Regions from separate parts of the Homo sapiens genome. Here region 1 is linked to region 2. Evidence: promoter capture Hi-C in human tissues and cell types (Jung and others, 2019). All regions are on one chromosome and are shown on one strand. The core of a region is centred on a gene start or on the middle of the fragment in contact, and the rest is flanking DNA. Distances in the headings are between cores, read along the strand shown.

Region 1 (6,145 bases), core at 3,631-6,130, 540 kb after region 2:
GGCTAATATCTACAGAACCTCAACCATGAGTCTTGCTCTGTGCCGACTTCTGAAGATGAACTTTCCTTTCAGTCTCACTAAAACTCTCTGATGAGAGTAGTAACATCAGTTTTACCATACACGTGGAGAAACAGCCATTGAGAAATTAAGTGCCTCACCCAAGGTGACATATCTAGTTAGTTGTAAAACTGGAAATAGAGCCCCAAAGCCATGTCCTCATCCCCACACCATGCTGCCTCCAAAATACAATGTTGAAGAATGGCAACAAATACTGTTATTATCACAGATGCTAGTCTAAACACCACTACACAGTGAGGACAAAGGCATAACATATTTTAAATTCTTTTTTTGTACACAAAAAGGGAAGAAGAATAAACAAAGAGAAATTCCCTAGAGATGAATGGCCCAGAGAACACAAATAAACTTGAATGTGTTATCAAAATGGCAGCCAACTGGTTTCCATTGTGTTTGCCTCTAGTAGTTAAGTGTGAAACACTGACTAGCACATACAATAGGCAATGAGATTTCCCATTTTATTTCTGAGACTCATTGTATTTCTTACTTTCTACATTGAGTAGTTGAAGTCACAACGGAAGGAAAGTAAAGTCTTAAGAATAGAAAGTTACAGAGCTGACTGGAAATTTATAATTCAGTTCCAAAATGTTGGAAGTATAGAGATGTTTTGTACATATTGCAGGGTCTACTCTGATCCCTTTGGCAGCAGAAACATAAGGCTTCCAAATAGTTCTAAACAAATGTGCTTGAATTTAGAGACTTTTTGAAAACCCTGTACTTCTTGGCTTGGAGCTAATGTTTATATCTTGCTTACTTTGTGCTGGGAACTGTTCTAAGAGCTTTTCAAATATTAACTCAAATATTAACCCTTTCAACAACCCTATTCAGCAGGCAGTATTATTATTATTCTACATTATAATTTAGATTACTTGGATCATTACATAGCTGAGGATTTCACACAGAGAGGTTAGGTAACTTCCCCAAGATCATGCAGGTGGTTTATGGTAGAACTGGATTTTAAACTGAAGCAGTTGGTTCCACACTCTATGCTCTTAACTACTACCCTAGAGACCCTGCTAAGTAAACCTACCTCTCAGGGATACTTTAAAAAACAAAACAAAACAAAAACAAAAATAAAAACAAACAAACAAAAAACTTTGGTTTTAATGTGATTTTAAAATATGTGTCTAAAGTAGAAGCTGGTGGTTACATCAGTAAAACGTTGATGCTTTCTTCTAAAAAATAAAAATAAGGGACAATTTTGATAGCTTTGGAGAGTCCCTGTGATTAGAGACCATGTGGACTAAATCATTCAACCCATATTTTTCGTATTACTCTGCAGCAGTGGTTCTCAAGAGGTTTGGGGGGACGGCGCAGATTTTGCTCCACAGGGGACATTTGGCAAAGCCCGGAAACATTTTCCACTGCAGCAATTTGGGGGGTGGGGGGTGCTCCTGGCGTCCAGTAGGCCGAGGCCAGGGCTGCTGCTAAACATCCCACAATACATAAGACAGCCCACACCTAAAGAATGATCTGGCCCCAAATGTCAAAAGAGCTGAGGTCGAAAATCCCTGTCCTATGAGAATAAGAATTTAAATTCTGGTAGAATTTATCTACTAGTTAACACACTAGTACTAGTTAGGAATATACACAAGGAACACAGACTAGACGAGAGGGTGCTAGATGTTAGTGGTGACAGACCAGTGGACAAATAGTTACAAAACTATGAGGAATGTGCTGGAACAAAGACTGTGCAGGGTGCTGAGAGGTACCTGGGACGGACAGGCACAAACTCAGCCTTCTCAGTGACGCTGGGGCTGAGTATTCTAGACTGAGGCGGCTGAGTTCACCAACAGATAAGAGCCTGCAGAGCAGAGGAAAGGGCAGCCTGGGTTTGTTTTGTTTGCCGTTGTTTTATTTGGCTGCTAACTCCTAGAAATCTTTTTCGCTCTGGCTGGCCTTAGCGCCTGCCTTCTGTCTTGTCTCTAAGACTTTCCTCTTTTCATCCTTAAGGAGTCCAGTGGAAACTTTTGGAAAACCCAAGTTCAAGCTGAACCAGAATTGTGAATTTTTCAATGCAGAAGATCTCCATGGAGGGTAGAAAGACTCAGCAAACCGCGTTCAAAAGCAAATGATCTTTTAAACTTGTTCGATCCTAGATTAGGACACAGAGTATTCAGATTGCAGAAAGTGGCAGGGTGATGTGAAAGCTCTGATTTATCTGGGACCATTAAAAGCTTTAAGGGAGCAAAATAGAGCATCAAGGTAAAGAGCTAAATGGTAACAACAAGAGAAGCTTCTCCATTCCTTCCAATCAGTTTTATAAATCAAATGGATGAAAAGATTACTAAATCCTCTGGAGCTAAATGTTCTCCATTATTCTATTTGTTTTTCAGCCTCCAAAGGGGAGACGTTAAGCCAAAGGGTTTTAGAGTCTAAGCTGCAGATGGAATGTGAACAGGCATGTGACTAACCCGCCTGTCATCACAATGACCTGCTTTGGTTGTTGTTATTGTCGTAAACATGACATCCTCTTCAGCAGAAGTTTACATTTTTAGAGGGAAGTTTTGGGGTTCCAAGTTTTCTCTGAATCCTCATTTTTTACAGAAATAGAGGAGAGGTAATTTGCCACATGGGTCCCCCCAAAACCAAGGTGATCTTTCAAACCTTTATTCCCAAAGTTCAATTTCAAAGCCAGAACGGTGCAGGAGCATATACCTTTGAGGAAAGCGGGAGTTTGTTCTAATCAAATTGAATTTGTCATTTTTGTGAAACCTTGGGTTTCCCTTGTTTTAGTTACTTTTTTGAGCGTTGAAATGGAGGGGTTTGGTGATAAGGCTGGGAGAGAGAAAGAGTCATCATCCATTCATCACATTGCCCCCACTGCTGAGAGTTTTGGTCAATGTTGTTCATTTTTAGTTTGTACATACAAAGTGGCTCATGCAAATAGATTGCTGATGGAAAATAGCATCTTCTTCATGGGCAAAGGAGGCATCAAAACCATAAGCTTGAGAGTCTTTCTGCTTTTTCCTGGAATTAGTTCTGGATCCCTCAGAGAAAACAGTGGGCTACAAGGACCTACCTGTCCACTGCATATAATATATCCAGAAAACAGTTCCACAAAACAGGAATTGGTTCAGAATTTTGCATTGTGTACACTCAGATTGATGTTCTGTCTCCTTTTAATATAGGGAAAGTTTGTTCCCAACTATGAGTAAAAGTTTTTAAAATGAGATCCTTCTACTATTAGAGGGTTTTTTTTTTATATACTTTAAGTTCTAGGGTACATGTATACAACGTGCCGGTCTTTTAAAGTTCTTAGATTTTCTGGAAGTGAGGCAACATGAAGACCCACCAGATAAACATGTTTGGCATCCTATACAGAGCTGCCAATGAACTGCTCTCCTTAGCGTGGAAAAGAAGGTTGAGACTGAAGAATAATCTGAATTCTCCATGCACTCCAGCTTTCCAGGCCCAGGCTTTCCTTTCACGTTTAGATAAAACAGCTTAGGGCTCAATCACACAGGCTCTAGGAAGCCTTGCACTCATCCTAAAATTTATGAGAATTCCCAGTGGATTACTTTCCACTTTCCAGAGGTTGCCTGCCTCTTCTTGCTCCCAACTCCACCCTAGGCTCAGGTACTGTGGGTCTCCTTCCTCCTAGGTCATATCTAGGTTTCTGAACACCTCTGGAATGACCAGCTACCATTCAATTCACACAGACAGCTTTATCCTGGCTCCTCATTTTCTAAGTCCACAGAGTTCCTAAATTCTTAACTTTAGGAAGAGGGGGGAGAGGGTGACTCAAGGGTGTCTTTTATCACAGGTTGTTGCGGGAACTCAGGGACCCTGAACGGAGGGACCAGCTGAAGCCACGGCAGAAGAACATAAATTGTGAAGATTTCATGGACATTTATCACTTCCCCAATCAATATTCTTGTGATTTCCTATGCCTGTCTTTACTTTAATCTCTTAATCCCATCATCTTCATAAGCTGAGGATGTATGTCACCTCATGACCCTGTGATGATTGCATTAACTGCACAAATTGTTTAAACAATATGAAATCTGGGCACCTTGAAAAAAGAACAGGATAACAGCGATGTTCAGGGAACAAGGGAGATAACCATTAGGTCTGGCTGCCTGAGAGCCAGGCAGAACAGAGCCATATTTCTCTCCTTTCAAAAACAAATAGGAGAAATATCACTGAATTCTTTTTCTTAGGGGGAGGTCTCTGAAATGGCCGCTCTGGGAACGTCTGTCTTTTACAGTTGCTGATAAGAGTTGAAATAAGCCCCGGTCTCCCGTAGCACTCCCAGGCTTATTAGGATGAGGAAATTCCCACCTAATAAATTTTGGTCAGACCAGTTGTCTGCTCTCAAACCCTGTCTCCTGATAAGATGTTATCAATGACAATGCGTGCCCGAAACTTCATTAGCAATTTTAATTTTGCCCCAGTCCTGTGATCTCGCCCTGCCTCCATTTGCCTTGTAATATTTTGTTACCTTATGAAGCATGTGATCTCTGTGACCCACACCCTATTTGTACACTCTCTTCCTTTTTGAAAATCACTAATAAAAACTTGCTGGTTTTGCAGCTCATTGGGCATCATGGAACCTGCCGACATGTGATGTCTCCCCCGGACAACCAGCTTTAAAATTTCTCTCTTTTGTACTCTTTCCCTTTATTTCTCGGACTGGCCGAGAAATACTTAGGGAAAATAGAAAAGGACCCACGTTGAATTATCGGGGGTGGGTTCCCCCGATAACAGGTGAGTTACATCCTTTTGTTTCACCCCCTCCCTTTCAGATTATGCACGGGGCCCCAACTCCTCAATGAGGGAGGGATCTATCTGGGGCTGTACCTTTAGCCACACAATGTTCTGGGGCAAATTTTGAACTCATAGGTTTTCTTTAAAGGCTTTATTTGCTTCCTGATCCTGAACACATCCTTGGAAAAAGGAAAGGCCACAAAAAATATATACTCCTACCGCCTTTCAGATGAACTACCAGAAATCAGCAATTAGACCCTTAAACAAGGAGATTAAAGGTTTTCACAGTAACAGGTCAAACTGAATAGAATATGTTTCCTAAGGATGGGGATCTCAGCCTCATTTGTTTAAGTTTGTATCTTCAGCACCTTGAACATGACTGGCGTATAGTTGTGCTCAAACAATATCTGTTGAGTGACTAACTGAATGAAGGAATAAATGACCAATGAATATATTTAAGATTCATTTGTTTGGTAAGAACTGATTGTGCTACTAATATGTGGCAGGAACTGAGATAAGCAATGTGGACCTTAGACAAATGGAACAGTATGTTCACTTGCCCCTGACGAGCTTCTAATTGAGTAGGGAAGACAAGACACATACACAAATTGCTTTAGTCAAAGGGAGACCTTGGAGATCACATGATATAAGCCTAGACAAGAAATAATGGTAGAGCACAGCAGAGCAGATGGGGAAGAGGGCTCTTAAGTCAGATCGGAAATCTGTGGAGTATGACCGGGCGTGGAATTCACACCTATAATCCCAGCACTTTGGGAGGCTGAGGTCAGTGGATCACTTGAGTCCAGGAGCTTGAGACCAGCCTGGGCAACATGGTGAAACCCTGTATCTACAAAAAATAAAAAAAAATTTAGCCAGGCATAGTGATGTGTGCCTGTAGTCCCAGTTACTAGGGAGGCTGACGTGGGAGGATTGCTTGAGCCCATGAGGTCGAGGCTGTAGTTAGCTGTGATAGTGCCACTGCACTCCAGCTTGGGGAACAGAGAGACCCTGTCTCAAAAAAAAAAAAAAAAAAAAAAAAAAAAAAGAAGAAGAAGAGGGAAAAAAAAGAAATATATGAAGTAATTGGAATTCCTCTTGCTAGATAGGGATTTTCTTTAGGTTATAAACAAAAAATAACAATCCCTTTGAAGCCATATTTTCCGAAGTCATTATCGTTTGTATAAATGGTATACCCTTTGATGGATTCTTCAACAGATATTAATATTTTAACTATTGTTTTCCACATTGGTGCTTCAAAAATAAGCTATTCTTTTGCCCACTAAATACCATTTCCCAAAGCAAAAGCAAACAGACAAATTCATAACAAGGTGAAAATGTCTGTAGCAAATCTAGTCTTCCA
Region 2 (6,759 bases), core at 4,197-6,696:
CATTTTTCAGTATCTTAAATGTATACAGTTTATCATGAAATTATATTAGACCAATAACTTTTCTGATTATGAAAACAATGCATGCTCATCACAGAAAATACAGAAAAGAGTAAAAGAACAAATGAAAATTACCTAAAATCTCACCATTCAGAAAATGCCCCTCTTTAAAATTTTGCGTATCTCTTCAGTCTTTCCATATGTAATTCTTAAGTAAAATTTGGACCAGATTCTATTTTTAAATAACACCTTTATTCAGATGTAATTCACATACCATACAATTCCCCTAAAGTGTATAATTCAGTGGCTTTTAGTATATTCACAGTTGTGTAACCCATCACCACAAATAAATCAACTTTAGAAGATTTATCTGTGCCACCACCCCCCAAGAAAATCCCTGCACTTTAGCAGCCACTCCTCTTTCTTCACTCCACTGCCCTTCTGTCCCACCCCACCAAGTCAACAACTAATCTTTTTTCTGTCTGTATAGATTTGCTGTCTGGACATTTCATGTGAATAAAATCATACAGTATGTGGTCTTTTGTATCTGGCTTCTTCTATTCAGCATAACGTTTTCAAGGTTCATCCATGTTGTAGCATTTTCAGTACTTCATTCCTTTTCATGGCAGAATAATATTATGTTGTGTGGATAAACCACATTTTATTTATCCATTCATCAGTTGATGGACATTTTGATTATTTCCCATTTTTGGCTATTATGAATAATACTGCTATGAACATTTGTGTACAAGTGTGTGTGTGTTTTTTTTTTTTTTTTTTTTGAGATGGAGTCTCGCTCTGTCACCCATGCTGGAGTGCAGTGGTGCAATCTTGGCTCACTGCAATCTACACCTCCTGGGTTCAAGTGATTCTCGTGCCTCAGACTCCTGAGTAGCTAGGATTACAGGCATGTGCCACCACGCCCGGCTACTTTTTGTATTTTTAGTAGAGACAGGGTTTCATCATGTTGGCCAGCCTGGTCTCGAACTCCTGACCTCAGGTGATCCACCTGCCTTGGCCTCCCAAAGTGCTGGGATTACAGGCATGTGCCACCACACCCGGCCTGTGTACAAGTTTTTGCATGGACATATGTTTTCATTTATCTTGAATCTGCTGGATTATATAACTGTTTAATCTTTCATATAGTTTTGCATCTTGATTTTTTTTCACTTAGCTTTAGGACTATTTTTCCACATCATTAAATATTCTCTAAAAACACGATTTTTAAATGGTTATGTTATTGGATCATCCTAGGAGTTTGCGATAGTTTTTAATCATTCTCCTATTTGGGGCCTTCCAGTTTCTCCTAAGTTTGAAGAAAATGCGTACATATGCGGTCTCCACATCTCTCGTTTCCTTAAAGTGAATTCACAGAAGTAGAATTACTAAAAGGTAAATATGTTTTATGTCACTTGTCATATGGTGTCTGGGAAGATTGTGTGAATTCTCTCTCTAAACACTTCAGTGTTCTTAGCCTGTGTATGTTCGGTGGTGATTATTTAATATCAAGTGCTATAAAACAGAGCCCATGGATTTTTGAAAAGACACAGTCCCTGCCATCAAGATGCTTATGTCCAGCACTCTTTTCATCCTCCCAAACTGAAAACTCTGCACCCATTAAACAACTCCTCATTCTTCCCTCCCTCCAGCCCCTGGCAATCACCACTCGACTTTCTGTCTCTATGGATGAGACTACTCTAGGTACTTCATGTGAGTGGAATCATACAGTATTTCTCTTTTTGTGACTGGCTTATTTCACTTAGCATAATGTCCTCAAGGTTCATCCATGTTGTAGCATGTGTCAGAACTTTCTTCCTTTTTAAGAATGAATAATATTCCATTGTCTATACATAACACATTTTGTTTATCCATTCAAATGTCAACGGATACTTGAGTTGCTTCTGGCTTTTGGCCATTGTGAATAACACTGCTGTGAGCACTGGTATACCAATCTCTCTTTGAGACCCTGCTTTCAATTCTTCAGAGTATATACTCAAAAATGGAATTGCTGGATCATATGGTAATTCTATTTTTAATTTTTTGAGGACCCACTGTATTGTTTTCCATTCCCTTCCACATTTTTAACAGGATTTAAATCCAGTCAAACTTTCTAGTCCTCTGTGGGACCATCATGTGGATATAAAGGATTTATTGCCCTAGGAGGGTATAATGTGGAAGCCATTGAAATACAAAATTCTGACAATTGCCATAAAAAGACAAGGTAAGGCATATGTCCAGCTTAGTTCTACATAGTTCATTCAATAAATATATATTAGGGATTGAGTATGTGCTAGATGCTGAGCCTAAAGAGACAGTCTCTGCCTTGAAGGAGCTGATAGCCTAGTGGGAGTAATACTGACAAGAAACTGGCCAGTTACAACACATGTGGAATTTCAACATGGACAGACACTGGCTGCTAGGGGAAACACACGCAGGATGGCACCAAACCCTATCTGGGCTCGCCATCATCTGGACAGCTACAATTTGCTTCTTTACTGCCTTCACTGTACTTCTGGCACTCACAAGGCCCAACTGTGAGTCTGGCACTTTGTTAGAGGGATCATCCTCTAGTACAGATCTCAGAAAGATACTCCCTCATTTTCCTGCTGAAAGCCCTTGAGAGGTTTCCCCTTGCTTTCATGATGGAGCCAAAGCTCCTTGGCCAGTGGCAAAAAGAGCCCTAGCAGGCCTCCCTCTTGACTACTCGCAACCACTGATGGGCACGGCTCTGTGCCTTTGCTCAAGCAGCATCCCGAGCCTGGCTGATCTCTCACCATTAGTGGTTCTCAAGCCTGGCTGCACATTAGAATCCTCTGGGGAAATTAAACAACAAAAAACAAAAACAAACAATGGCAGGGCCTCACTCCAGATAGGATGAATTAGGATCTCTGAGGGTAGGGCCTGCATATTGGCTCAGCTCTCCAGGGTGACTCTGATTTAAACCACACACAGGCATACAACCCTCTTCCACACCCCAGCAGGACCTGCCAGTTAGGCTGCCATCAGCCCCAAAGACAGCTCTGGTTCTGCTCCTGGACCGAATGCAGACAACTCTATGACTGGCTTTTCTAGATGAGTCCCATTCAGTCAGAAAAGATTTAAAACACCTACTGTGTACAATGCAGCTGACAACCTTCTCTACAAATTACAAATGACAACTGTAATATTTTAAGTGTCATAATGTACACAATTCCTGATATTCACCCTCTCACTTACCTCTTCACAGTGGAAGGCAACATATATTTATTGAGCAACTCTCCAGGCCACACACACTCCAGTCATCTCAATCCTCACAATACTCCTGCAATACAGATAATGGCTTATTTTCATCTTACAGGTGAGGAAACCTGCTAAAAACAGTAAATAATTTGCAAGTTTTTTTCATGGTGTTAATCACATTTAAAAAACGTTTTTACTGCCTTCCCCACAAGACCATAAGAGAAGATCCACATGTTTTATTCACCTATACACACCTAGCAAACACCCAGTCAGTGCTTACTATTACTTAACACATTTTTGTTGTTGTTAAATGAGTAATGAGCATCCAGGATGCTCTCTCTCTTCTCTGCTTGGGAGCTTCATTTCTTTTCACTACACACCAGCTTGCTTGTACTCATTGCACCTAAGCCCAGTGCCCCTTGGCTTCTTTCGTAGGAGACCAAGCCCATCTCGATTCTAGTTCAAAAAAATCATTCAAAAATTCTAGTTCAAATAAATCTTGTTAAAAAAAACAAAACAAACAAACAAACAAACAAAAAAACCATGGTGCCCACTGTGGGCTAATGAAGTGGGTTTGAGGGGTCAAAACATTTGCATAAGGAAGGTCAAGCAGGTCCAGTTCCCAGAAGTGAGGGGTGCTGAGCAAGTTGGATAAGTTTCTTGACCATTCTGTGCCTCAATTTCCTCATCTACAAAATGGGAGAAATCCAACATCCTAGGATTAATGAGAATTAAATGAAAGTCTTGATAAAGTGCTTTGAACTATGGCTGTCACACAGTAAGTGTGAATAATAGGATGTGAATCTACAATTAAAAGGCTTAAAAATATCTACCAAACCAGGCATTGTTCTACAGCAGGGGGTCAGCACACTTTTTCTGTTAAAGATCAGAAGGTATATATTCTAGGCTTTGTAGGCCATACAATCTCTATGGACTACTCAACTCTGCTGCTATTGTAGCAGCAACAGCAGATACAGAAAATAACATAAATGGATAGGCATGATCTTGCTCTGGTAACACTTGTTTACAAAAACAGGCAGGCTGGATTTGGCTGCAGGCCATAGTTTGTTGACCCTTTTCTAGAGCAGGGCTGTGCAACATATATATAACATGTAAACCACAAATATGATTTAAAATTTTCCAGTAGTCATGTTAAAAAATAAAAATTGGTGAAATTAATTATACATTTTATTTAACCCAGTGTATCCAGAATAGTCATTTCAACATGTGATTAATATAAACAAATTGAGATATTTTACATTCTTTTTCATGCTAATTCTCGAAAATTCACTGTGTCTTACACTTACAGCACATCTCAATTCGGACTAGCCACATTTCAAGTGATCAAGCCTTATGTAACTAATGGCTATCATTATTGGGACGCCACGGTTCTAGAACTGATGCTAATATGGATAATGCTTGCTTAGGTGCATACCTATACCAAAAAGTGTATACAGTGCCAGGAAAAGTAGGCACGAAATATGGTATTGGATCCATATAAAAACTTATAAAGATTAGCTAATATTATAGTAAGCAAGGTGCACACATCTGCACAAAAATGGCCTAAACCCTGAGAAGAACGAGAGGAAAGGTCTGGAAACAATGTTTCCAGAAGTTTGTAACAAGTCAAAAATAACCTAGATCTGTTCAGATCTTTAGATCTCTTTAAAGCCTAAAGAGAAACTGTAACTTTCTAGCCCTAACCCACTTAACAGCTCCCCAGCTTCACAGGGAGCCCCGCCCTCTATGGAGAGAAACGATGCCAAATGTTGGCAGCGGTGTAGCGGTTACTGAACAGCCACTCAGCACTGCACTAGGACCATTTCCCTTAATGGTGACCCCTAGTAAAGGTGCAGCGAGAGGAAGGGACCAGCCCAACTGCCCGGTCTAGCCCGGGTTCGAGTTCCGGTGGGTGGGGTCGAGCAACATGCAAAGCCTGCCGCTAATCATCTTGGGATGACGGCCCGGCACCCAGCACACAAACAGCGACAGTCCCGAGGGTTCAGCCCACTCTGGCGACCTCGACAGTCGGAGAGGAAGGGGCGGGGGTGCGAGCACCTTCGGATCTACGCCGCCCAGGGCGCACCGGAAAGCTGCCGCGAGCCGGGGTGGGCTTCCGCTGGGAATAAGGGCTCGCCTTTTTGCGGGACACAGGCCCTGGCAAACCTGAAGCATGACTCACCGAAAAGCGCAGGCGCAGTTCCGGAGCCTTCAGCCGCCCAGTGCCCACGGAGAACTTCCGATCACCGGGACTGGGACAACGTCAAGGCTCAGCCAATCCAAGCCCACAGGCCGGCGCACGTGGTCCTGGGACCCAGTGCATGCGCGCTAGGGAAATGGCTGCCGTGGGACTGCGCTCGCGCGGCTTCCTAGAGGAGGAGCCATGGCCCCGCCCCGGGCCCGAGAGAAAGAAACTGCACTTTCGTTTTTTAGCAGCAAAGTTTGTTGATGTACTTTACAACTTATCTTTTCTGCTTCTACTCAGGACAGTCAAGACAGTGCTCAGCTAGATGTTCACATAACTGTAGACATAAATGTGAATCTATTTAACGCAGTAATTAATTCAAAAAGTGTTTTTAGCATCCTAGCATGCATCAGTTGATATGAAAGTAGTAAATGTTAATTGAGTGGTCTTGTGCATCCTGGACTTCTCATCTGTGCATATTCTCATTCTTTGCCTGCAAAGGGCCAGTAAAAGCACAGTGATGGTTGAACGAATGTGACAGCCTCCTTTGCTGATGCCTTACCCCAAGGTAATTTGGGGAAAGGTTCAGGGAAACAGAGTATCCAATCCAATACTCTGGACTGGGTGCTGGCAGGAAGGAGGGCGATTGTATGATTAAGTATCATAATAAATCTTACCTAAAAGGAGGGGAGACAAGACCAGTGACTCATTAACTGGGATAGGGGATGTTTGGTCATTTTTGTGGTTTGGACAATGTTTACGTTTTTTCAGCATTCCCACGTGATTACGAAGGAGTCTTGTTTTTGTCTTGATCCATCTGGTCAAAGAGTGGCCACGTCTGATGGTGTTCTGTGAAGTATTTATGTTCCACGCAGCACCAAGGCCCAGCTGTGACTGCCGGGGCAGCTCAGAGCTGTCAGGGGTTACTTTTTTCTTGCTGTCTATTATAGGGCTAAAATGTTTAAGGATTATATAATACCTTTTTAAAGAAAAAATTATTTGGCTGGGCGTGGTGGCTCATGCCTGTAATCCCAGCACTTTGGGAGGTCGAGGCAGGCGGATCATGAGGTCAGGAGATCGAGACCATCCTGGCTAACACGGTGAAACCCCGTCTCTACTAAAAATACAAAAAATTAGCCAGGCGTGGTGGCACGTGCTTGTAATCCCAGCTACTTGGGAGGCTGAGGCAGGAGAATCGCTTGAACCCGGGAGGCGGAGGTTGCAGTGAGCTGAGATCGAGCCATTGCACTCCAGCCTAGCGACAGAGCAAGACTTGGTCTCAAAAAAAAAAAATTATTTAATGACACTTGTCACTTGTTAAAGCATGGTAAGGAAGACTTTATTCAGGACCATTGAGA

What was found. Contacts are between HindIII fragments. The study calls those that stand out against the background at their distance.
Region 1: a fragment that was not itself captured here is called in contact with the fragment with the promoter of TCEANC in region 2 in 1 of the 25 tissues and cell types used here (bladder).

What each region holds. Positions count from the first base shown.
Region 1 is chrX:13,115,932-13,122,076 of GRCh38, reverse strand. No RefSeq gene overlaps it. Among named protein-coding and RNA genes, the nearest start is that of FAM9C, 74 kb to the right of the region's middle. The HindIII fragment of the contact is 4,425 bases long and covers 2,668-6,145 here.
Region 2 is chrX:13,651,828-13,658,586 of GRCh38, reverse strand. TCEANC (transcription elongation factor A N-terminal and central domain containing) reads right to left here and starts at 5,446. Exons shown (of 5, transcript NM_001297563.2): 1 at 5,399-5,446; 2 at 3,214-3,298. It overlaps LOC107985657 (a long non-coding RNA gene), which reads left to right and starts at 5,148. Exons shown (of 1, transcript NR_171573.1): 1 at 5,148-6,090. RefSeq lists enhancers at 5,224-5,313, 5,574-5,763 and a silencer at 5,334-5,645. The HindIII fragment of the contact is 15,832 bases long and covers 1-6,759 here.